Linked DNA regions of Homo sapiens: all the other regions are linked to region 3. The links are contacts of gene promoters, found by promoter capture Hi-C in blood cells and fetal thymus (Javierre and others, 2016). All regions are on one chromosome and are shown on one strand. The core of a region is centred on a gene start or on the middle of the fragment in contact, and the rest is flanking DNA. Distances in the headings are between cores, read along the strand shown. Region 1 has its middle 12 kb from the start of KANK1. Region 2 overlaps DOCK8 (dedicator of cytokinesis 8). Region 3 holds the start of DMRT1 (doublesex and mab-3 related transcription factor 1). Region 4 overlaps KANK1 (KN motif and ankyrin repeat domains 1). Region 5 overlaps KANK1 (KN motif and ankyrin repeat domains 1). Region 6 holds the start of DOCK8-AS2 (DOCK8 antisense RNA 2). Region 7 overlaps KANK1 (KN motif and ankyrin repeat domains 1).

Evidence for each region. The method cuts DNA at HindIII sites, captures the fragments that hold promoters and counts their contacts. A CHiCAGO score of 5 or more calls a contact.
Region 1: a contact is called between a fragment that was not itself captured here and the fragment with the promoter of DMRT1 in region 3, in 2 of 17 cell types (M2 macrophages and M0 macrophages). The highest score is 5.5, in M2 macrophages.
Region 2: a contact is called between a fragment that was not itself captured here and the fragment with the promoter of DMRT1 in region 3, in 1 of 17 cell types (endothelial precursors). The highest score is 5.3, in endothelial precursors.
Region 4: a fragment that was not itself captured here is called in contact with the fragment with the promoter of DMRT1 in region 3 in 4 of 17 cell types (M1 macrophages, monocytes, M0 macrophages and 1 more); the score reaches 8.0 in M1 macrophages.
Region 5: a fragment that was not itself captured here is called in contact with the fragment with the promoter of DMRT1 in region 3 in 1 of 17 cell types (M2 macrophages); the score reaches 6.0 in M2 macrophages.
Region 6: the fragment with the promoter of DOCK8-AS2 here is called in contact with the fragment with the promoter of DMRT1 in region 3 in 5 of 17 cell types (endothelial precursors, M1 macrophages, megakaryocytes and 2 more); the score reaches 10.2 in endothelial precursors.
Region 7: a contact is called between a fragment that was not itself captured here and the fragment with the promoter of DMRT1 in region 3, in 5 of 17 cell types (M0 macrophages, M2 macrophages, megakaryocytes and 2 more). The highest score is 7.5, in M0 macrophages.

Annotation. Positions count from the first base shown.
Region 1 is chr9:490,835-493,795 of GRCh38, forward strand. It overlaps a transcript of KANK1 not described here. Among named protein-coding and RNA genes, the nearest start is that of KANK1, 12 kb to the right of the region's middle. The HindIII fragment of the contact is 5,391 bases long and covers 1-2,961 here.
Region 2 is chr9:397,865-401,019 of GRCh38, forward strand. DOCK8 (dedicator of cytokinesis 8) reads left to right here. Exons shown (of 48, transcript NM_203447.4): 26 at 1,282-1,395. Among named protein-coding and RNA genes, the nearest start is that of DOCK8-AS2, 71 kb to the right of the region's middle. The HindIII fragment of the contact is 3,410 bases long and covers 1-3,155 here.
Region 3 is chr9:839,807-842,946 of GRCh38, forward strand. DMRT1 (doublesex and mab-3 related transcription factor 1) reads left to right here and starts at 1,891. Exons shown (of 5, transcript NM_021951.3): 1 at 1,891-2,386. The coding sequence starts at 2,033. The HindIII fragment of the contact is 3,804 bases long and covers 307-3,140 here.
Region 4 is chr9:575,504-578,750 of GRCh38, forward strand. The region is part of intron 1 of KANK1 (KN motif and ankyrin repeat domains 1); the gene reads left to right. Among named protein-coding and RNA genes, the nearest start is that of KANK1, 72 kb to the left of the region's middle. The HindIII fragment of the contact is 175 bases long and covers 1,177-1,351 here.
Region 5 is chr9:507,846-511,094 of GRCh38, forward strand. All of the region lies in intron 1 of KANK1 (KN motif and ankyrin repeat domains 1), which reads left to right. Among named protein-coding and RNA genes, the nearest start is that of KANK1, 4.8 kb to the left of the region's middle. The HindIII fragment of the contact is 6,814 bases long and covers 1-3,249 here.
Region 6 is chr9:468,560-471,577 of GRCh38, forward strand. DOCK8-AS2 (DOCK8 antisense RNA 2) reads right to left here and starts at 1,570. Exons shown (of 2, transcript XR_002956871.2): 1 at 755-1,570. It also overlaps a transcript of KANK1 not described here. RefSeq lists enhancers at 398-447, 688-787, 1,320-1,845, 1,348-1,497 and a silencer at 1,608-1,657. The HindIII fragment of the contact is 2,947 bases long and covers 1-2,212 here.
Region 7 is chr9:556,679-559,779 of GRCh38, forward strand. All of the region lies in intron 1 of KANK1 (KN motif and ankyrin repeat domains 1), which reads left to right. It also overlaps the pseudogene RNU6-1327P. Among named protein-coding and RNA genes, the nearest start is that of KANK1, 54 kb to the left of the region's middle. RefSeq lists an enhancer at 1,125-1,676. The HindIII fragment of the contact is 1,205 bases long and covers 676-1,880 here.

The sequences.
Region 1 (2,961 bases), core at 333-2,832, 350 kb before region 3:
TATTCTGACACAGGAAAACAAATATAAACATAATAAATGAATTAATTAGAATATAGATGGCAATAAGTGCTACGAAAAAAGATGAGGAGAACAAAGATGAGACTATGTGAAGGGCTAAAGTGGCTTTTTTTTTTTTTTTTTTTGAGACAGGGTCTCATTCTGTTGCCTAGGCTGGCGTGCAGTGGTACAACCATGGCTCACTGCAGCCTCAAACTCTTGGGTTCAAGGGATCCTCCTGCCTCAGTCTCCCAAGCACCTAGGACCACAGGCATGTGTTACCATGCCCCATCTAATTTTTAAACATTTTGTAGAGATGTGCTCTTGCCATGTTTTCCAGGCTGGTCTTGAGCTCTTGGGCTCAAGTAATCCTCCTACCTCGGCCTCCCAAAGTGCTGGAATTACACATGTAAACCACCGTGCCCACTCCTGGAGTGCATTTTCTTTTTTTTTTTTAGACAGAGTCTTGCTCTGTCACCAGGCTGGTGTGCAGTGGCATGATCTCAGCTCACTGCAACCTCCGCCTCCCGGGTTCAAGCAATTCTCCTGCCTCAGCCTCCTGAGTAGCTGGGACTACAGGTGTGCATCACCACGCCCAGCTAATTTTTGTATTTTTTAGTAGAGATGGGATTTCACCATGTTGCCCAGGATGCTCTCAATGTCTTGACCTCGTGATCCACCCTCCTCGGCCCCCCAAAGTGCTGGGATTACAGGTGTGAGCCACTGTGCCCGGCCTGGAGTGCAATTTTAAATAGCATGGTGATAGTGGGCCTCTCTGGGGAGGTGACATTTGTGGACAGGAGAGAAAGAAGGAGCATGCTGATTTGGGGCGAGAAAAGGGAAACGTCAAACACAAATCACCTAAAGCAGGAGTGATATGGTTTGGCTGTGTCCCCACCCAAATCTCATCTTGAATTATAACTCCTACAATTCCCACATTTCGTGGAAGGAACCCGGTGGGAGGTAATCAAATCACGGGAGTGGGTCTTTCCCATGCTGTTCTTGTGATAGTGATTAAGTCTCACAAGATCTGATGGTTTTCAAAATGGGAGTTTCCCTACACAAGCCCTCTCTTTGCCTGGTGCCATCCAAGTAAGACGTGAGTTACTTCTCCTTGCCTTCCGCCATGATTTTGAGGCCTCCACAGCTACATGGAACTGTAAGTCTATTGAACTTCTTTCTTTTGTAAATTACCCAATCTTGGGTATGTCTTTATCAACAGTGTGAAAACAGACTAATGCAAGGAACATACCTGGAGTGTTCCAGGAACAGCCAGGAGGCAACGTGGCTGGACAGGAGACAGGGAAGAGGAGAGTAGTAGGAGAAAAGACAGAGTCATTATTGTCATCATAATTGTGACAGAACTCCACAAACCTAACTTCCAGTTTTGAGTCTTAGTTTATTTACTCTGTGACTGTAGGGAAATCCTTAACTGCTTAAATAGAATGATAGTACTTAACTTGCAAAGCATCGATAGTTAGAGATTTATTTCACAAAACTGACTAGAGAGAATCAGTATAGCTTAGCCATGCTGTCGGTACTTACGTGGATAGCTCTGGGTTTATATGCTGATTTACTTACTAGATGTGTGTCCTTGGGCAGGTTACTTAAACCTCTCTGTGCTTCAGGTTTCCTTTCTGTAAAATGAGGCAACTAATAAATGCATCCTTTAGAGCTGTTAAGGGTTGCCTGGACAACTGTGAGGCTGTCTGTGAGAGACAGTCTCACATCACATGCTTAACATAGTGATTGGCATATAGAAAGTACTAAGTAAATATCATTATTTATTATTATTTGAAAAGTTTAAGATTAAATATATTGAAATATGCATTTAAATGTATATTTGAAATATATATTTAATAACCAAAACATGCTTTTGAGAAAAAATATCTTATTGTTATTAATAGTTGTGGCCAGGTGCGGTGTCATATGCCTATAATCCCAGCACTTTGGGAGGCCGAGGCGGGTGGATCACCTGAGGTCGGGAATTCGAGACCAGCCTGACCAACATGGAGAAATCCTGTCTCTACTAAAAATACAAAATTAGCCGGGCGTGGTGACCCTTACCTGTAATCCCAGCTACTCGGGAGGCTGAGGCAGGAGAATCACTTGAACTCAGGAGGCAGAGGTTGCGGTGAGCTGAGATCGTGCCATTGCACTCCAGCCTGGGCGGTCAACAAGAACAAAACTCCGTCTCAAAAAAAAAAAAAAAAAGAAAAGAAAACCAGCTGTGGCCTGGTAGCCGGCCTCCCTGTCTCTGAATATTCACATCCTTGTACAGTCCCTTCCCATATTGTACCAGGGTTGGTTTGTGCGACCATAGAATATGGCAGAAGTGATGGTATGTCACTTCTGAGATTCGGTTATAAAAGACATTGCAGCCACCATCTTGGTCATTCTTTTTGTCTTTCTCTCCATCCCCACTTGGTCTGGAGAAAACCAGCTGCCATGTCATGGGACAGTTCACGTGACAAACCTTTTGCCAGCAACCATGTGAGTTGCTGAGCCTCCTTAGAAGAGTGAAGAAGCCTTCTCAGAAGTGGATCCACCAGCCCTGGTCAAGGTTTCAAATGACAGAAGCCCCCAGTGACATTCTGATTGCAACCTTATCAGAGACTGTGAGCCAGAACCATCCAGTGAAGCAGCTCACTGGATGGTTCTCAGGAACTATGTGAAATGATAAACATTTATAGTCTCATGCTGCTAGTTTTGGGGTAATTTGCTTTTTTTTTTTTTTTTTTGGAGATGGAGTCTAGCTCTGTCTGGAGTGCAGTGGGGTGATCTCGGCTCACTGCAACCTCTACCTCCCAGGCTCAAGCAATTCTCCTGCCTCAGCCTCCCATGTAGCTGGGATTACAGCTACACACCACCACGCCTGGCTAATTTTTGTATTTTAGTAGAGACAGGGTTTCACCATGTCGGCCAGGCTGGTCTTGAACTCCTGACCTCAGGTGATCTGCCCAC
Region 2 (3,155 bases), core at 454-2,953, 440 kb before region 3:
CTTCGTTAAAGGGTATACAGTAGTTCTTTGTACTATTCTTGCACCTTTTCTGTAAGTTTAAAATTGTTTCAGAATAAAAGCTAAAACATATATAAAATGGAATAAATCAAATGTTTAAAAGGCAGCTACAAAAATCTTAGGAAGCAATGTTTATTATTAATCGCTTTGTCGTTATTGAGAATGTGCATAGTACCAAGTGCTCAGGAGATTTTCATTCGGTTATTCCTCATGGCAAACTTTGTTGGAACAGCATGGTATCTCCACATTGGCAGGTGTGAGAATAAGGCACAGTGAGGTTGATAAATTTTCCAAAAGTCACACACAGCCAGCAGTAAAGCCAAGACTGGAGATTTTAGACCCAGATACTGAGTCACGTAAGGCACCCAGGAGGAGTGGCCATGTGGAGAATGCGGAGAGAGTTCGAGGACCTCTCAGCGGCACGGTAGCAACCTCTTTATCAGGTCCCCATCCATCCCAGTGACTTGACTGGTCAGCATGGCCTGAATTTGCAAATTGCATGTTAACAAAAGCAAAATAGTTTCAAACCATATTTTTAATAGTGTCAAAGGAAATTGATTTGTCATTCTGAGAATAAAGGACATAAACATGAAAAACTGAATCCCAGATTGCTCTGAAGCACTGTAAAATCCCTCATAAACAGGAGCACTGAGAAATAATACAAATTAAAAATTTTAAAAATAGGCGTAGCTTATTAATTGGGATTCATGGAGGAATTTACCCTACGGAGTGAATACACCCTGCGGAGTATGACTCTGACCTCTCTTAGGCTGGAAATGCTGCCTAATTGAGGAATAAATTTCTTAGGTAAAAACTAATTCTTTTATCCTGATTGGATTTTCTGTAATAATCCTTAAAAATTAAGAAACTGTCTCATTGAAAACAGTAAGTATTTTTCAAGTCAGTTTGCCAAAAAAAAAGAAAATAGTTACAAAAAAAAAAGTTACCAGGATATAAAAAAAAGTAGGATCCAACATAGTATATAGAGAATGAGGTTAATTATACACATATAAATATGCATGTAGAAAAAAAAGTGACTGGAAGGAAATGCACCTAAATATTAACAGTGCACGAATAATTACTTGATTCAACCTCACAGTCATGGCTTTAGTTAAAGGAGACTCAACTACTTCGCCCAGTGCCACCCAGAAGGACAGTGGCTGAAATAATAGGACCTGTCTCTCCCAATGTTCCCACCAGTGACCTGGAAGTTCAAATCCAGAGTGTCCCACAAAATGATTTGGGTGTTTGTTTGTTTTTAAGGAAAATGAACAGGCGGAAAAGATGAACATCAGCCTGGCTTTCTTCTTGTATGACCTTCTCTCCCTCATGGATCGGGGCTTTGTGTTTAACCTCATCAGACATTATTGCAGCCAGGTGAGTGTCCCCCCCACCCCCACCCCCGAGCGAGCCACTTGGTTCCTTCTCATATAATGTGATGTTCGTTGCCATGGCACGCTGTCTTCTTCATTACTGAGTTGGCATGAATCCTACACATCCTGTGTTTTGCAGCACGTCCCTCATGTCTGTGCCATGGACATTCCTCAGACATGCTGGTTTACCTTGATTCCTGGAGCATTTACCGACAGTGTAGAAGGGTCAACAGATTCATCTGTGGGAATTAAAATTTGTGATATGATCTGAATCTTCAATTTGACATTCAACAGAAAATTAACATGGCTATACAGTGCTTTCAGTCTTTGACAAGTCCTTGCGCTCCCAGTCTGAGGTCTCTTTTCACATATTAGGGTAATTAATTAAATTGCTGTTGTGATGCTCCGACTTGAAAGAACCTTTTTAAAGTGTTCTTAAATAAAATCATTCAAAGAGATTTAATTTCACTGAGCACATAGCAAATATTTCATAAACCAAGTGCATCTATCAGTGCCATCCCCCCAGATTTTTAAATGGAATTATTCATGTGCTGTCTCCCTCAAACTACCTTAACAATAGTAATATAAATAGCAGTTATTGTTGCTGCTCCTCTCCTTCCATATCCCTAATCTAGCCACTAGTACCATCATTACTGCTACTACTACCACCAGCCACCACCATTCTCATTAGTCCCATGCCCACTATCACCACCTTCTCCACCATCACCACCTCCCACCACCTCCACCACCTCCACCATCACCACCACCTCCACCATCACCACCACCACCTCCACCATCACCACCTCCTTCACCATCACCATCACCACCACCTCCACCATCACCACCACCACCTCCACCACCACCAGCATCTTCACCATCACCACCACCTCCACCATCACCACCACCACCACCTCCACCATCACCACCTCCTTCACCATCACCATCACCACCACCTCCACTATCACCACCACCTCCACCATCACCACCACCTCCACCATCACCACCACCTCCACCATCACCACCACTTCCTTCACCACCACCACCATCTTCACCGTCACCACCACCTCCACCACCACCACCTCCTCCACCACCACCACCTCCTCCACCATCACCACCTCCTTCACCATCACCATCACCACCACCTCCACCATCACCACCACCACCTCCACCATCACCACCACCTCCACCACCACCAGCATCTTCACCATCACCACCACCCACCTCCTTCACCATCACCACCACCTCCACCATCACCACCACCACCTCCACCATCACCACCACCTCCACCACCACCAGCATCTTCACCATCACCACCACCACCTCCACCATCACCACCACCTCCACCATCACCACCACCACCTCCACCACCATCACCACCACCTCCACCATCACCACCACCTCCACCACCACCAGCATCTTCACCATCACCACCACCTCCACCACCACCACCACCTCCACCATCACCACCACCACCTCCACCACCACCAGCATCTTCACCATCACCACCACCTCCACCACCACCACCACCTCCACCATCACCACCACCTCCACCATCACCACCACCTCCACCATCACCATCACCACCACCTCCACCATCACCACCTCCTCCACCATCACCACCACCTCCACCACCACCACCTCCCCCACTACCAACAGCTCCTTCACCATCACCACAACATCCACCACCACCATCACCACCACCACCACCACCTCCTCCACCATCACCACCTCCTCCACCACCACCACCATTAGCTCCACCATGAC
Region 3 (3,140 bases), core at 641-3,140:
CTTTAGCCCAGAAACTGGAGGCTACAGTGAGCTATGACTGTGCCACTGCACTCTAGCCCAGGCAACAGAGCAAGACTCTATCTCTAAAAATTAAATAAATAAAATATAAATCTGGAAAAAGAACATAAATATTGGATAACAGCAATTGACATGCGTGTTTTAATGGAAGATTGTTTTAATGGAAGATTTAAGTGGTTATCATTTATAAGTTTCCAGGATGGAATAGATTGTTGCATCCTAGCTCCTGTCAGGAGTAGAGCTTCACTGGTTTCACAGGTAGGGTATGAGGTGCTGTGTAAAGCTAGAAGCTTCTTTTGGAAGTAATTTTCAGACAGAGAATACTAATGGAGAAATTTCAGACTGAGGGAAAGGGCCTGTGAGAGAGGCCTCAGAATTAGAGCTCCAAAGGCAGATTCGAGGATTTCAGAACTCAGTGCTGAAAACACCAAACTGCTGAAAGAGGTGGCCACAGTACAACCATTTTGATGAGAAGTTGAACAGGGTGACCATGCCTCTTTGGAGAAATAATCCCCTAGGTCTGGAGGCGGCCCAGGATCCTGAAGGTGAGTACCAGTGCTGGTGGAAAATAAGGAGCATTCAAAGTGCATTAAGAGCCACTCCGGGGTCTTTAACTTGTTAACATGGAAAACAATAGCAAAGTACTGCTGGGGCCCCCTGCTGTGTGTATAGAATATACCGGAAGACTAAGACATGGAGATAGCAGCTGGGAGCTACCGCAGAGATTCAGACTTGAGGTGAAGGGCTGGCCTTAGGGGGGCACGTGGGTGTGTAGGAAGAACTGCTCAGCAGGCCTTAGGGATACATTTGTTGTGCAGGTGCAGAGAGGACACAGGCATGGCTGGGGCGGGAGTTCAGGATGAGAACCCTGGGACAGGCTGTAAGATGATCGAGCCAGGGGTGTGTGTGTGTGTGTGTGTGTGTGTGTGTGTGTGTGTGTGTGTAGAGGTATAATGACATACTGTAAAATGCAAGATATGAAGTGTAGAATGAGTTTTGATACATTTCTACATCTGTGTAACCACCCCCCACAACCTCAGTTTTTTTTAATACATATGTTTCTTTTTAAGTTTGAGTTTCCCGTGCCTGCAGAGTCTAAGTTTAAACAGCCTCACAGACAAGAAGCTATATGCACCTGAAGTGAACGGGAACACGGGCTGCAACAGTAGATCGTAAAGTTATTTGGAGCGAAGGAGGTAGAAGTGTTGTGAGCAAATGAAGACAGGTGCAGGAAGGGATAAACGGAGAACAGAAAGTTCCAACCTTTGAGATTTTTGAAGTGCTTGTGCCCCAACACTGAGGATCTTCTTTGCCGTATATAGGGCAACTCTGATTTACCCTATAAATTTCTCAGGCCTTCCACCTCATATTTAATTCTCTTAAGCGAGAAAAAAAATTTTTTTCTGACTTGGCTGCTGCCAAGGTCGGCTCTATCAAATCTGGTGCGTCTCTCTGGGGGAAAGGGAGCTAGAAGACCCCATAGGGTGGTTTGCACCTCCTCTAAGCATGCAAGCACGGCTCTGGTCTTGACCTGGGGAGCCCAGCTTCCTCGGTGCACCGTGCTTTGGCAACCGGGTCTTGGCGCCTCCGAGAGCGGGGCGAGGGGTGCCACGCGATTCCCAGGCCGCTCTGTATCTCTCGGTGCGCTTGCAGGGACCCTGCAGCAAAGCCCTGGATGCTTGCAGCCGGTGCAAGTTTGCAAGCAGCTGGAGAGCGGTGGCTGGAGTCGGGGGGCGGTGGGCGTGGCCACGCTCCCTCCCAGGCAGTCCCGGGAATGTTCTGAAAAGTATCCGAAAGTTCTGAGTCGCGCGCGCGCCAAAAGAAAAGGCACAACCCCCCACCACTCCGGGCGTGGCGTGCCCAGACCTCGCCACTCCAGCTGCGCCTCCGGCTGCAGCGCACACGTCTCCTGCGCCTCCTCCTCCGGAGCGTCGCTGTCCGTCGGGTTCATCCCTCGCAGCAGTCTCCAGGCGAGAGAGGGGGCCAGAGTGCTCGCACTTCTCCTAGGGGCACCATGCCCAACGACGAGGCATTCAGCAAGCCCTCTACACCGTCGGAAGCCCCTCACGCCCCCGGGGTACCGCCGCAGGGCAGAGCCGGGGGCTTTGGCAAAGCGTCTGGGGCGCTAGTGGGGGCGGCCAGCGGCTCGAGCGCCGGGGGCAGCAGCAGAGGAGGCGGCTCCGGCTCCGGGGCGTCGGACCTGGGTGCCGGGAGCAAGAAGTCCCCGCGGCTGCCCAAGTGCGCACGCTGCAGGAACCACGGCTACGCCTCGCCGCTCAAGGGCCACAAGCGCTTCTGCATGTGGCGCGACTGCCAGTGCAAGAAGTGCAACCTGATCGCCGAGAGGCAGCGCGTGATGGCCGCGCAGGTGGGTGCGGGCGTGCGGGAGCCCGGGTTCAGCCTTAGTTTTTTTTTTTTTTTTTTTTTTTAGATGGAGTCTCGCTCGGTTGCCCAGGCTGCAGTGTAGTGGCGCGATCTTGGCTCACTGCAACCTCCGCTTCCCGGGTTCAAGCAATTCTCCTGCCTCAGCCTCCCAAGTAGCTGGGACTACAGGCGCACACCACCATGCCCGGCTAATTTTTGTATTTTTAGTAGAGACGGGGGTTTCACCATATTGGTCAGGCCGGTCTCGAGCTCCTGACCTCAGGTGATCCACCCGCCTCGGCCTCCCAAAGTGCTGGGATTACAGGCGTGGGCCACCGCTCCCGGCGGGGCCCGAGTTTCTTGAATGAAGTCCCCCCAGCATGGCCGTTGCCATGCGGGTCCTGGGTTGTGGAGAGATGCGGCGGTACTTGCCGACAGCGGCGGCGCTTGGGGTCCTGGGCTCCCGGCCACGCTACATCGCCGGTCTGGGAGCGCCGGAGACGCGTCTGATCCCGCCCGCCGGGCAGAGTTGCGGGCTTCGCTCGGCTCGGGGTTCCCCACGATCTCTCACCCTGTGTTTCGGCGGAGTTGCGGGGGTTCCCTCTGCTCCCGGGTCCCTGAGATCCCTGATCCCGCTCTCAGGGCAGGGAATTCCGGGGTTCGCCCCTCTGGGCTTCCCCGCGATCCCAGAGCCCGCGTTCCAACAGAATTGGGAGGGTTTATTGCGCTAGAGGAGTCTTCAGGATCTTCGCTCCCGC
Region 4 (3,247 bases), core at 14-2,513, 260 kb before region 3:
CAGGGAAAAAAAAAAAAAAAAAGCCAGGAATGGTGATGCACACCTGTGTTCCAGCTGCTCAGGAGACTGAGGTGGGAGGATTGCTTGAGCCTGGGAGGTTGAGGCTGCAGTTAGCCATGATCATGTCACTGCACTCCAGCCTGGGCAACAGAGCAAGACCCTGTCTCAAAAAAAATTAATTACAGAGATAGTGTTCTAGTTAATAGCAAGGAAAGAATGGCTTAAGCAATAAGCTTGGCCGGGCACAGTGGCTCATGCCTGTAATCCCAGCACTTTGGGAGGCCAAGGCGGGCCCGATCACTTGAGGTCAGGAGTTCAAGACCAGCCTGGTCAACATGGTGAAATCCTGTCTCTATTAAAAATACAAAAATTAGTCAGATGTAGTGGTGTATGCCTATAATCCCAGCCACTTGAGAGGCTGAGGCAGGAAGATCGCTTGAACCCAGTATGTGGAGGTTACAGTGAGCTGAGATTGTGCCACTGGACTCCAGCGTAGGCAACAGAGTGCAACTGCATCTCAAAACAAAAAACAATAAGTTTAATGAATGATTCCCAAAGTATGGTCTATGGACCAGCATCATTCACATCATCTGGGAACTTATTAGAAATTTTAAATTTTTAGGCCCTATCAGACCTACTGCTTACTCTGAAGGTGGGAGTCTAGGAATCTGTGTTTTTACAAAGCCCTCCACATACTTCTGATTCATGATAAAGTTTCAGTACCACTAGCTTCATACCATCCTTTTATAATTTTATGAGTTTAAATGCTCAGGGCTGCTGAGATAACATACCCTTGGGTCCTGAGTGTATACAAGGTAAGAAGCAGCTGGCAGCCTCCTTGAAGGCCCAGCATAGACAACCTTACTGGCCTCCCTTTTAATATACAGATAGGTAAGAAAGCAGAAGAGGAACCAATATTTGCTCTGCTAGGCACTGTGCCTATCTTTCCCACAGTTCCCTTGCATTTAGCCCTCATGCCAATCATATGCTTGTCATAGTGTGCTCCTTATATGTTTTGGGTACTTCATCATTTTCTAGTTGTAATCTCAGTCTTGAGAGCAGGCTCAGACGTTTGCTTCGATTCTTTCACTGGCAATCACGGAGACTTGACATTGTTTCATTTAGGGGACTGTACATTTCCTCATGGGGCATGCAGTTTGTGTTGGAGATACAGAAAGCTTCATCTTGAACTTGGTGCTTCTTCCTGGAACAGTAATTTTATTTCAGGTTTGTGGGAGAGGAAGAGGAGGGACCTTGTTTTTTTTTTGCAAACCATGACATTCCCTGTACGTACCATGTACCTGGTGCATGATAAATAACTGTTAAATAGATTTCTATACTATTAACAGAAAGCTTGTATTGTGTCCGGAATTGGTTCCTTCAGGTGGTTTCTTGGTCTCACTGACTTCAAGAATGAAGCCATAGACCCTCACGGTGAGTGTTACAGTTCTTAAAGATGGTGTGTCCGGAGTTTGTTCCTTCAGATGTTCAGATGAGTCCTTAGTTTCTTCCTTCCAGTGGGTTCATGGCCTCGCTGACTTGAGGAGTGAATCTGCAGACCTTTGCAGTGTTACAGGTCATGAAGGTAGTGCAGACCCAAAGACTGAGCAGCAGCAAGATTTATTGTGAAGAGCGAAAGAACAAAGCTTCCACAGCATGGAAGGGAACCCAAGCGGGTTGCCTCTGCTGGCTCTGGTGGCCAGATTTTATTCCCTTATTTGGCCCCGCCCACGTCCTGCTGATTGGTCCATTTTACAGAGTGCTGATTGGCCCATTTTACAGAGAGCTGATTGATCCATTTTACAGAGTGCTGATTGGTGTGTTATTACAGAGTGCTGATTGGTGCATTTACAAACCTTTAGCTAGACACAGAGTGCTGACTGGTGTGTTTACAAACCTTTAGACACAGAGCGCTGATTGGTGCGTTTTTACAGAGTGCTGATTGGCGCGCTTACAAACCTTTAGCTAGACACAGAGTGCTAATTGGTGTGTTTACAATCCTTTAACTAGACAGAAAAGTTCTCCAAGTCCGCACCCGACCCAGAAGCTCAGCCGGCTTCACCTCTCAGTATCATCTCCCAGATAGCTTGTGCCCACCCTTCAGACTTCTTTGTTTAAGGCAGTTATTCTCAAAATGTCCCTTGACCAGAAACAGCATCACTTGGAAACTTGGTAGAAGTACACATTCTCAAGTTCCACCCCAAACCTCTTGAATCAGAAATTCTGAGGGTAGGGCCCAGGAATTTATGTTTCAACAAGTCTTGCAGGTGATTTTGATTTATGCTAGCATTTGAGAACCACTGGCTTTACGCATGAGAAGTAGGATTTTAAAATTGTACTTTTTATTATAATTTTCTGGGAAAGTAAAGCTGTTTCACCTGTAAACTTTGGGAATAGGAGCACCCTGAAGCTCACAATGGCATCCTGCAAAGCCCCAAAGAGTGCTAGTTGTTGATCATTACCTGTGCACACATCATTCCCTCACTCAGAGCCCAGCTAGGAGGCCTCCTTTCACCTTGTAACCAGGTCACCCCTAGATGTGATCACTTCCTCCACAAGAACTGAGAGAGAAGAGAAGAACACCAGAGGATACTGAACTGGCCATACTGGGGCTTATGGTTTAAAGGGCAGAACTGAGCCAAATGAGGACTCCTCAGAAAATTGCTTTCTCGTTGGATCACCCCAGAAATAAATCAGTAAAAGCATTCACCTTTTGTTTTATTTGCTTCAAACAAAGTAGGAAACATTCTTCTTGCTTTATATATCTAGATACCAAGTAAGGAAGTATGATTTGGATTCTTGAGTCTCTTTATTTTATTTTTCAACTGTGTGTGTGTGTGTGTGTGTGTTTGCCTTTGCTAAGCCATGGAGGGTAAAAAATGAAATATATTAGCAACATTGTTGACATGGACCACAGACAATTAAATGTTTCATTTCTTATTAATCCTGAAAGAAAAAGCCTTTTTTTTTTGTTGGGCGGCAGGGAGGGGGTGCAGTCCTCTATACAAAAATCTTAAAAACTAAATATATCTATTCTAATTGTTTTCCCCTGGAACATCATCATAGTTTAGGAGTATATCTCAATGTTGATTTTAAAAAATAAATATGTAAACAGCTAGATTTATGCACTGTTAAAGCATCAGTGCAAGTTTTAGGAAAAAATCAAGCATGACAATTGAAAATAAAATAACCATTACTAAGTTGGACTCTTCTTTACCCTCAAGAAATTGTACTTGGATGTTTATGG
Region 5 (3,249 bases), core at 100-2,599, 330 kb before region 3:
ATGCCAGTTTTTGTATTTTTAGTAGAGACGGGGTTTCACCGTGTTGGTCAGGCTGGTCTCCAACTCCTGACCTTGTGATCCGCCCACCTCAGCCTCCCAAAGTGCTGAGGGATTACAGGCATGCGCCCCCACACTTGGCTAATTTTTGTATTTTTGTTAGAGACGGGGGTTTTACCATGTTGGCCAGGCTGGTCTTGAACTCGTGACGTCAGGTTATCCATCCGCCTCTGCCTCCCAAAGTGTTGGGATTACAGGTGTGAGACACCCTGCTCAGCCTTTTTTTTTTTTTTTTTTTTTTTTTTTTTTTTTTGAGATGGAGTTTCTTTCTTGTTGCCCAGGCTGGAGTGCATTGGGGTGATCTCAGCTCACTGCAACCTCTGCCTCCCGGGTTCAAGCGATTCTCTGCCTCAGCCTCCTGAGTAGCTGGGATTGCAGGCATCTGCCACCATGCCCGGCTAATTTTGTATGTTTAGTAGAAACGGGGTTTCTCCATGTTGGTCAGGCTGGTCTCGAACTCCCGACCTCAGGTGATCCGCCTGCCTTGGCCTCCCAAAGTGCTGGCATTACAGGCGTGAGCCACTGTGCCCAGCCTGTAGCTATACATCTTAAGAGTACATCTTCACAAATTGTCACAAAGTGAACATAAACATATAACAAGTACTCACGGAAAGAACCAAAATATTGCCAGCATTGCAGAAGTGCCCCTATACTCTTGTCCAATCACTGCCCCTCCCGAAGAGTAACCGTTGTGCCAACTGTGGATTAGTTTTATCTGTTTTCATGCTCTACACAGACTCACACGGTATATAGCTTTTAGTATCCTGGTTTCTTTCTCAACATTATATTTGTGAGATTCAGCTGTGTTGTTGCTTGTGGCTGTAGTTCAGTTATTTTCACTGCTGTGTAATATTCAATTGTATGACTACAATTTATCAATTTTTAGGTTTGAGGGGCATTTACATAGTTTCCAGTTTCTTACATGGTAAGTAGTGTGACTATGAACATTCTAATTCTAGTACACGTCTTGATACACAATATCCAATACAAATGTGTACATTTGTACAAATTCTATTCAGAAGTAGAATTTCCCAGTTCCAAACTAGGATTCAGTTTAGAGGTACAGTCATGCGGATTTCTGAAGTGGTTGTAGAGTTTATACTTCTACCCGTAGTGTGAGAGAGTTCTGTTGTGTCCTTTTTAAATTGGAAGAGCAGTAGATCTGCAGAGTTTGGCAAATGGACAAAATATGACCTATTTATTATTTTTTTTTTGGAGGCGGAGTCTTGCTCTGTCACCAGGATGAGTGCAGTGGCGCGATCTTGACTCACTGGAACCTCTGCCTCCTGAGTTCAAGCAATTCTCCTGCCTCAGCCTCCCGATTAGCTGGAACTACAGGCACACGCCACCACGCCCAGCTAATTTTTGTACTTTTAGTAGACACGGGGTTTCACCATGTTGGCCGGGATGGTCTCCATCTCCTGACCTCGTGATCCACCCACCTCGGCCTCCCAAAGTGCTGTGATTACAGGCGTGAGCCACTGGCCCAATATGACCTATATTTACCCCATCCTAGCAGACTAATTATTTGTTGTCTTCACTTCCAGTGCTTTTCCATGTCTGTTCATGTTTTTATGAAGTCACAATTCTAATATTCAATTTTGTATTTTGTTTCTTAACACAGTATCTTAATATTGCTTCAGTCTCTGACTTTTTAATCCCTGCATATGCCTAAGGATATGCTTTCATTTAATAATCCTCTTATTAGAAATGTGTGTTAATTTCTGGTGTTTTACTAGTACATACCGTTGTGGAAATCATCTTTGTGCATATAGTTTTTACCTCCCTCTTGGGTATTTCATAAATTTGAGATTTTTGTTTATGTGGCTTGGGATCTTTGTTAAACTGCTGCCTGCAGAGTTATCCTTGAACCTAATATGGAATTGATTAAAGAAATCTTTTTTATTTTTTTGAGACAGGATATCATTGTGTCACCCAGGCTGGAGTGCAGTGACAGGATCAGAGCTCGCTGTAACCGTGAACTGCTGGGCCCAAGCAATCCTCCCGCCTCAGCCTGCCTCCCGAGTAGCTGGGACTACAGGCATGTGCCACTGCACTCAGCTAATTTTTCCTTTTTTTTTTTTTTAGTTGTAGAGATGGGGTCTTGCTAGGTTGTCCAGGCGGGTCTCAAACTCCTGGCCTCAAACAATCCTCCCTCCTTGCCCTCCTAAAAGTGCTGGGATTACAGGTGTGAGCCACTGCACCCAGTCTAAGAAATCTTTAAATTGCTAATATGTTACCTGCAAAAGGGTGTCTCATTGGGTTAAATTGCAATTCTGAAAATAATGGTGAGGTTGACCATGATAACTTCTTTAAAAATAGCATAAATTGAACCTTTGTGGCAATTTCATTTAGGTATCACTGATTAATTTTCTTTATATGGTCCTGTTTACAAAGGTATTGAGCCAAGAGCTTGAAAGGATATAAGAAGGATCATACCATTAAGTAGTTGATTGTCCAGAAATTATATCTAATAATTAAAAATACCAGTTAGGCAAAATTCTTACACATGACCAAGGAGTGTTCATTCTACAAATGCAGTGCTTGTTTAAGTTCTGAGGGAGAAGTCTTTCTTGTCTAGATGATTAGGAGCTGCTTCCCCCAAAAGTAAGACTTGAGCTCAGCTTTAAGGAGTCTCTAGAAATTGGCTAGGGAGCAGACATCACTAAAGAGACACTGAGCCTTCTCAAGGAGAGAGATCAGCGGTGCATAGGGAGAGCCCCGGTTGACCACTGGACAGTGGGGTTGGTGATGCTGGCTTCCTTACTATTCTTTTTCTGGAAGATACCGAAAATAAATGAACTAATATATAGGCCGAAAAAAGTACTTGGAGGATTTTGGGAGAAAGCTGTTTGGTACATTCAAGTCAGCATCATGGGGTTTAATGGTAAACACCTGCCAGAGATTAGAATGCAGTAGGCTGCTTTTTTGCCTAATTATAGATCTTAACTCCTTTCCCCTCAGGTAAAATTCAGTGATAATTTCTCTAAGATGAAGGCTGCTAGACCAGCCTTCATTCAGAATAAGCCAATATCACTTAACTTTAGTAAACAGTACTTAAATTTGTATTATGTGCAAGGCCCTGGTGGGGGAAATCAGAGACTAGAAAGCTAAGAGTTCATAGGGAATGAATGTATAATGATGCAAAATTGTATTAATAGGCAAAATGTTAGAAATACTCAATATCGATAC
Region 6 (3,018 bases), core at 320-2,819, 370 kb before region 3:
CTAGAGGAAATGCAGCATCACCTTGGTTGAAAACCATTTGGAGAGCCGTGCACATTCCTGATCCCTAAGTCCTTGATGTTGCACCCATCTTGAGGAGCAGTGCTCTCTCTGGACCGATGTTACTGAATCCAACCCAGTTCCTACTTGATGTTTGTGGCATTAGCTTGGCAGCTAGTTTTTACGTTTACTATTTTTACTACATATTAGGAGATGGCAAATTACTGATAGCCAGGATAAGGGAATGATTTTCAAGGCATTATAGCTCTAAAAAACAATTGAGAAATCAGCTCCCTCATCACTTCCTTAATGCAATGAGAGAACACGACACGGATGAACAAACTGTTCTGTTATCCAACAAGATTATCAAGAGTTATTAGTGAGATAATAAAAAAGTATATGTGACTGCCAAAAGTCTCCAGACTAAGGACCAGAAGACCTGGTTTCTTGTTCTTTCACTTTCTAGTCCTGCAATTCTGGCGAAGATACTATACTGCTCTGAGCTTCAGGGTTTTTTTCACTGTGAAAGAGGGTGCAAGTTCCTCCACATTCTTCCAATCTACTGAGGAAACCCAATGAGATAATGCATGGGAACATGTTTTGGAAACTCAAAAGTGCTGCCCAAAATGTAAGGTAACACTGTTTACAATTGACACTTCCAGAAAGTTTAGCCAGCACCCCCACACATGGCATCCGCTTCTGACAACGTTAATCAAAATCAGGCCAAAGGTGCAGGCAGGACAGAGGCCTGACTTACCAGAAAATAAACGTCTGGTCTATTCCACTTGTAGTGCCAGTTTACATTGTCTGGCGAGAGCCAACTACCAGGGCCTCCGGGTAGAAGAAAGAAAGGGTATCAGTGGAACTGAGAGTGTATACAGTGGCGCCTGAAAGCGGGTAGAAGAAAGAAAGGGTATCAGTGGAACTGAGAGTGTATACAGTGGCGCCTGAAAGCGGGTAGAAGAAAGAAAGGGTATCAGTGGAACTGAGAGTGTATACAGTGGCGCCTGAAAGCGGGTAGAAGAAAGAAAGGGTATCAGTGGAACTGAGAGTGTATACAGTGGCGCCTGAAAACCCAACCTCGCCAGGCTTCCCTGTCTCCTGTGTGCAGCATGTGTGCAGTGCATTCCCCTGGAAGGTAAATTCGCGGAGTCCCGCAGCCCACCTGTGTCCACCTAGCCTGTAAGTGCCCCCTGAGGGTATCAAAGCACGCGGACTTCCGCCTGAAGCAAAGCCACCGGGCGGCAAGTTTCCCCGTTAACAACAACGAAGACAGAGAGGACTTGGCAGCTGTGACGGATCTGCAATAATTAAACTGACGTTGCTGTTTAGAAGCCTGGGGGTCGCCTGCAGCCTCCCAGGCTCCACTCCATCGGCTCCAGCGCTGCAGGCGGGCCGTGCATGTCTCTAGATGCATATTAAGCAAAAAGTTTCTAAAGAGGATCGCGTGGAACCCAGCAATTGATTAAGAATCTCAATGGCCCTAATCCCCTGAGAATTGAACTAAGGGCTCCCCAGCAAACACAGCGATTTACATGGGGCCTAGAGAGAGCGAGCACTGCCGGGGGCGGCGGCGAAGGGCAGCAGTGGTGGGACGGGCGGGGTAGGGGGAGTTACTGAGCATGCGCCCGGGTAGGGGCGTGGGGGAGTTACTGAGCATGCGCCCAGGTAGGGGCGTGGGGGAGTTACTGAGCATGCGCCCGGGTAGGGGCGTGGGGGAGTTACTGAGCATGCGCCCGAGGGTGTTTCGGGGCGTCCGAAGCGGGCGTGCTCCAGCCTGCTCAGCAGCGAGTGGTTGGAAATTAGCAAAGTGAGAGGGTGCGTGGCCTGAGGGACTCGGGGAGGCTGAGGGCTTTTTTTCTCAACACTGTGAAGCTCAGGGAAAGGAGTAGAACTGGGAACCAAGTAAAGTAAAATCGTGGCAAGTGGGCATAGACCTGAAATCTCCTTCGTGAGGGAACCCAGAACGTGCAGCTCAATGTATGTTTGGAACGAACAGGTGAAAGGAAGCAGGAGGAGGAGGGAGTTCTAGCGAAGACTTCGGAGGGAAGCAACCCATCCCCTGCCACAAGAAAGCACCGCCACTCCAGTGGGAACGGACACGCGTGCACACAGCCACGAGTGAGGTTTGAAAGAGGCCCCACCCTCCATTACACCTGTGCTCCACCGTGGCCCCCAGCCAAGTTTAATCTCCCATTCAGCACTTACTTCTGGAAGCTTCTTTCCCTTTCCTTCCCACCACTCATTGGCCTTTCACCCCCTAGTTTTTTGTCTGTGTGTGGGACTGTCTTCCCCCACTCCCCTTGACTGAAGTTCCTTGAGAGCAGCAGCCCTCTTTTTATCAGGGAAGAGATTTGAAGCTCAGGACATTCTTATCCAAGTAGGTGCTAGCCACCTGGGTAGTCAAGACAGGGCCCTGCACAGTTAATGTGAATCTTGTCATAATGCCAGGGTTATTGTTTTGCAAGGAGCCGGTCATAGAACACTAGATTGCATTGTCACTGGGAAATAAGCTCATTCTATTAGCTTGTTTCTCAGCTAGCTTATGTAGAAATTTGCCACAGTTGTTACTGCTGGGCACCTGCCCTGGATCTGATCATCAATTATATCATCTCTTCCATCTGATGGACTGCACCTCACCCCTTGCTTTTTCAGAGCTGGCGAAGCTGGGCCAAGGAAAGCGATAGTGCCAGCTGAGTGGAATGTGCAGGAAGGGACCGAGGAGGGGCACTATGTACTGGAGAAAAGAGATGGGGTCTCCAGGACAGGGGTAAGGACACTAGACTGAGGGCACAAAGGAAGGAAACCACAAGGAAGTAGAGTAGGGAAGTGGGGAGCATGCTGAGGAGAGAGGTCAAGAGATGGTGACCGCTCTCTGCATGCCCCAAGGAGATGGTGATGACACTCCCAAGTCCATGTGGGACTCCCTCCTTATGCGGGCCTCAGTCTGTCATCTTCCTTGGAGCAGGACCAAAGTAAATAAGATAAAGTCACAATTTCTCATCCTTCTTCACTCAACTT
Region 7 (3,101 bases), core at 28-2,527, 280 kb before region 3:
TAGCCCCTTTGGTACTTTTCTCTCTAGCTCTTGCCCTGCTTCATGATGTTCCTGAATAGTTTTAGTTTTCTTTGTTTATTTTTCCACTTTCTTGGGCCAGACCTCCAATTTAATTCTTTTAGTTGAATGAGCTGCTTTCTCGCTTGTTACAGACTCACTTAGGGCTCATTCCTCCCTGCCTTAGTCCCAGTATGGTCTCAGTAATGACATGCAGTATGGGGACTTTGGACTCCTGTTTGAACAAACCAGCTTTGAGATGATAAAAATTTGAATATGAATTGAGTTCTTGAAGATAAGAAATTGTTAATTTTGTTAGGTTTGTTAATGGCATGGTAGTTACTCTAAAAACAAATTTCTGGGCGAGTGTAGTGGCTCATGCCTGCAATCCTAGTACTTTGAGAGGCCAAGGCAGGAGGATCACATGAGCCTGAGAGGTTGAGCCTGCAGTGAGATGAAATTGCGCCAGTGCACTTCAGCCTGTGTGACAGAGCAAGACCATGTCTCAAAAGGAAAAAAAAAAAAAAAAAAAATTTATTCATTAGTTATAAATGCACACTGATGTTCTTATAAGTGAAAAGATATATTGTTTTGGTTTTGCTTTAAGATTCCAGCAAATATAAAACAGAAAAAGAGGGAATATATTAAAAAGGCTGGCAAAATATGTATCATTGTTGAAGCTTAGTGATGGGTGCATTGTATTCAATATAGTATTCTCTTTTGTGTATATTTGAAGTTTTTCATGATAGAAGGTTTAAAAATTTAGAACAAAAATGAATGTGGAGGTTCAGGATCCTACCAGATGTTTCTAAATGAACTTTAAGTGACAATGGGGAAAAATGTCCATATCATCCTGGAGTTTAAGGCAGGGAATTCTTGGTAGGGGGCTATTGAAAAATAGCCAAACTGTTAGTCAAAAATGTACATATGATCTCATGGCCACAGATAGTAATGTAGAAGACAGATCACGAAAGTACTAATCCTTGGGTGAGGAAGAACAGGAGAAGGCAGCCCAAGAACTTAACTGAGGCCCCAAGAACTAAGGAAATCTGTTTTGTAAAAGGACCTGTACGGCCAGGTGTGGTGGCTGACACCTGTAATCCCAGCACTTTGGGAGGCTGAGGTGGGAGGACTGTGTGAGCCCAGAAGTTTGAGGCCAGCCTGGGCTGGTTTAATTAAATTAGCTGGGCATGGTGGCACACGCCTGTGGTCTCAGCGACTTGGGCGGCTGAGGTAGAAGGATTGTTTGAGCCTGGGTGGTTGAGGCTACAGTGAGCTATGATCGCGCCACTGCATTCCATCCTGGGTGACAGAGCAAGACTCTCTCAAAAAACAAACAAACAAACCTATACGAACAATGGTAGGAATGTCAAGGAACCCAGGAGTGAAGATCGGATTAGTCAGATGCTGTGAGAGGAGGTGGAAAAAACCAGTGTAGAATGGGCAGGCACCTTTGAAAAGGCTAGAGGAAAATTTTGGAAGGGCATTAAGGAGGAGCATAGCAAAGAAGTCTAGACCTATGACTTGGAGCTGTTCTGTTATATAAATAGGATATCCAGAGATAGCAAACTGCTCACTGCAGGAAATAGGGGAAATAGAGGATAATTTGGAAGAACACCCCACTGTTATTATTTGTGGCAGTTATGTTCTATAAAGTCGCTGTGGACATAATTAGTGAATACTGAGCCATTGCTCCTAGGGGAACAATACAGAGTTAGATTCCTGTGAGCCTCTGGTTATAACGATTTTGTCAGCTGTCAACCGATCAATACATAGCCTTGTTTTGCATGTGTTTCTGTTTAAAGATACCTTGTTTAATATACATTGTTGATTCATTAACATTGACCTCATGGCGAAGAGCACTGTATCTCATGCCTAAATGAAGCTTAGCCAATGCGTCTCTTCTTCCTAAGGCACATCATGGCCTTGTTGTGATTAAGAACATTAGACGACACTAAGGCATGATGTTTGGGGCTCATTTTAAACAGCAAAATCACCAAGAAACCCACAAAAATGAAAAAAAAAAGCCCTAAAAACTAGCCACAAAAGGGACATTTGTTAATAGTATAAGGGCTAGAACAAAGAGTGTAGGCTGGTTTTTTGGCTTCAGCTGGGTACATGTATGTGGAGTGACTCAAATATTTTGGTGTGTACTTGCTTCAGTGGCACATATACTAAAATTGGAATGATACGGAGAAGATTAGTATGGCCCCTGTGCAAGGATGACACAAATTCGTGAAGCGTTCCTTAATAAAAAAAGAAAAAAAAATTTTGGTTCTCTCCACCTGTGCGCAAATGACCATGAGCATTAGTCTTGGGGTTATAAATAAGTTTTAGTAGATGAATTTGCAAATGTGGAATCCGTGAATAATAAGGATGTACTGTATTTTTTCATCTTTATTTCTTAATTAACAACTGTGATCTGTATTTTAAATGAGCCTTTTTGGGGGAGCTTGATAGGCATTGAGTGTTTTTCCCAAAGATTTGTCACCTTCTTGTGAGTTGTCTAGTCTGTTCTTTTGGTTTTATAGATTTATTCTAAACTAAAAGTTAATGGTAGTTGCCATTTATAATTTCTTGCAGAGGTTTTTGCAGAGATCATCCATTTAATATTTTTGTGCATTGAAGGTTTTAATTGTACAGTCAACACTGTCATTCACTTGTGATTTTCATTTTTTCCAAGCTTAGAAAACTTGAAGGATGATGACTTTTTTATTGGAGAGGTTAAAAAAAAAAAGTAGGTAAAAGTGATGGATGCTTAGGCTGAGGGTGGTGACTGAATATGTGGTACTTGAAATTGAGTTTGAGTGTCCAGGCCTGGTTTCATTATATCTTGGGACACTTAAAAAAGTCTTGCAGAGGCAATCTGCTTGAAAATGCTGTATAAACCTTAAACCTCTAAATTGTAAAATGTAAGTGCATAATAATTTCTGATTTGTAGACTTCTGTTGACAATCTTTCAAGACGGGAGAAGGGTGAAAAAGACGGAAAAGACAAACAGATATTTTTCAGAAATGAAAAACATGTACATTTTCTGACATAGGGAATGAGAGATTTTTCTAAATGTGACCCAGAAGGCTTTCAGGTGATTTCCTAACAAGATT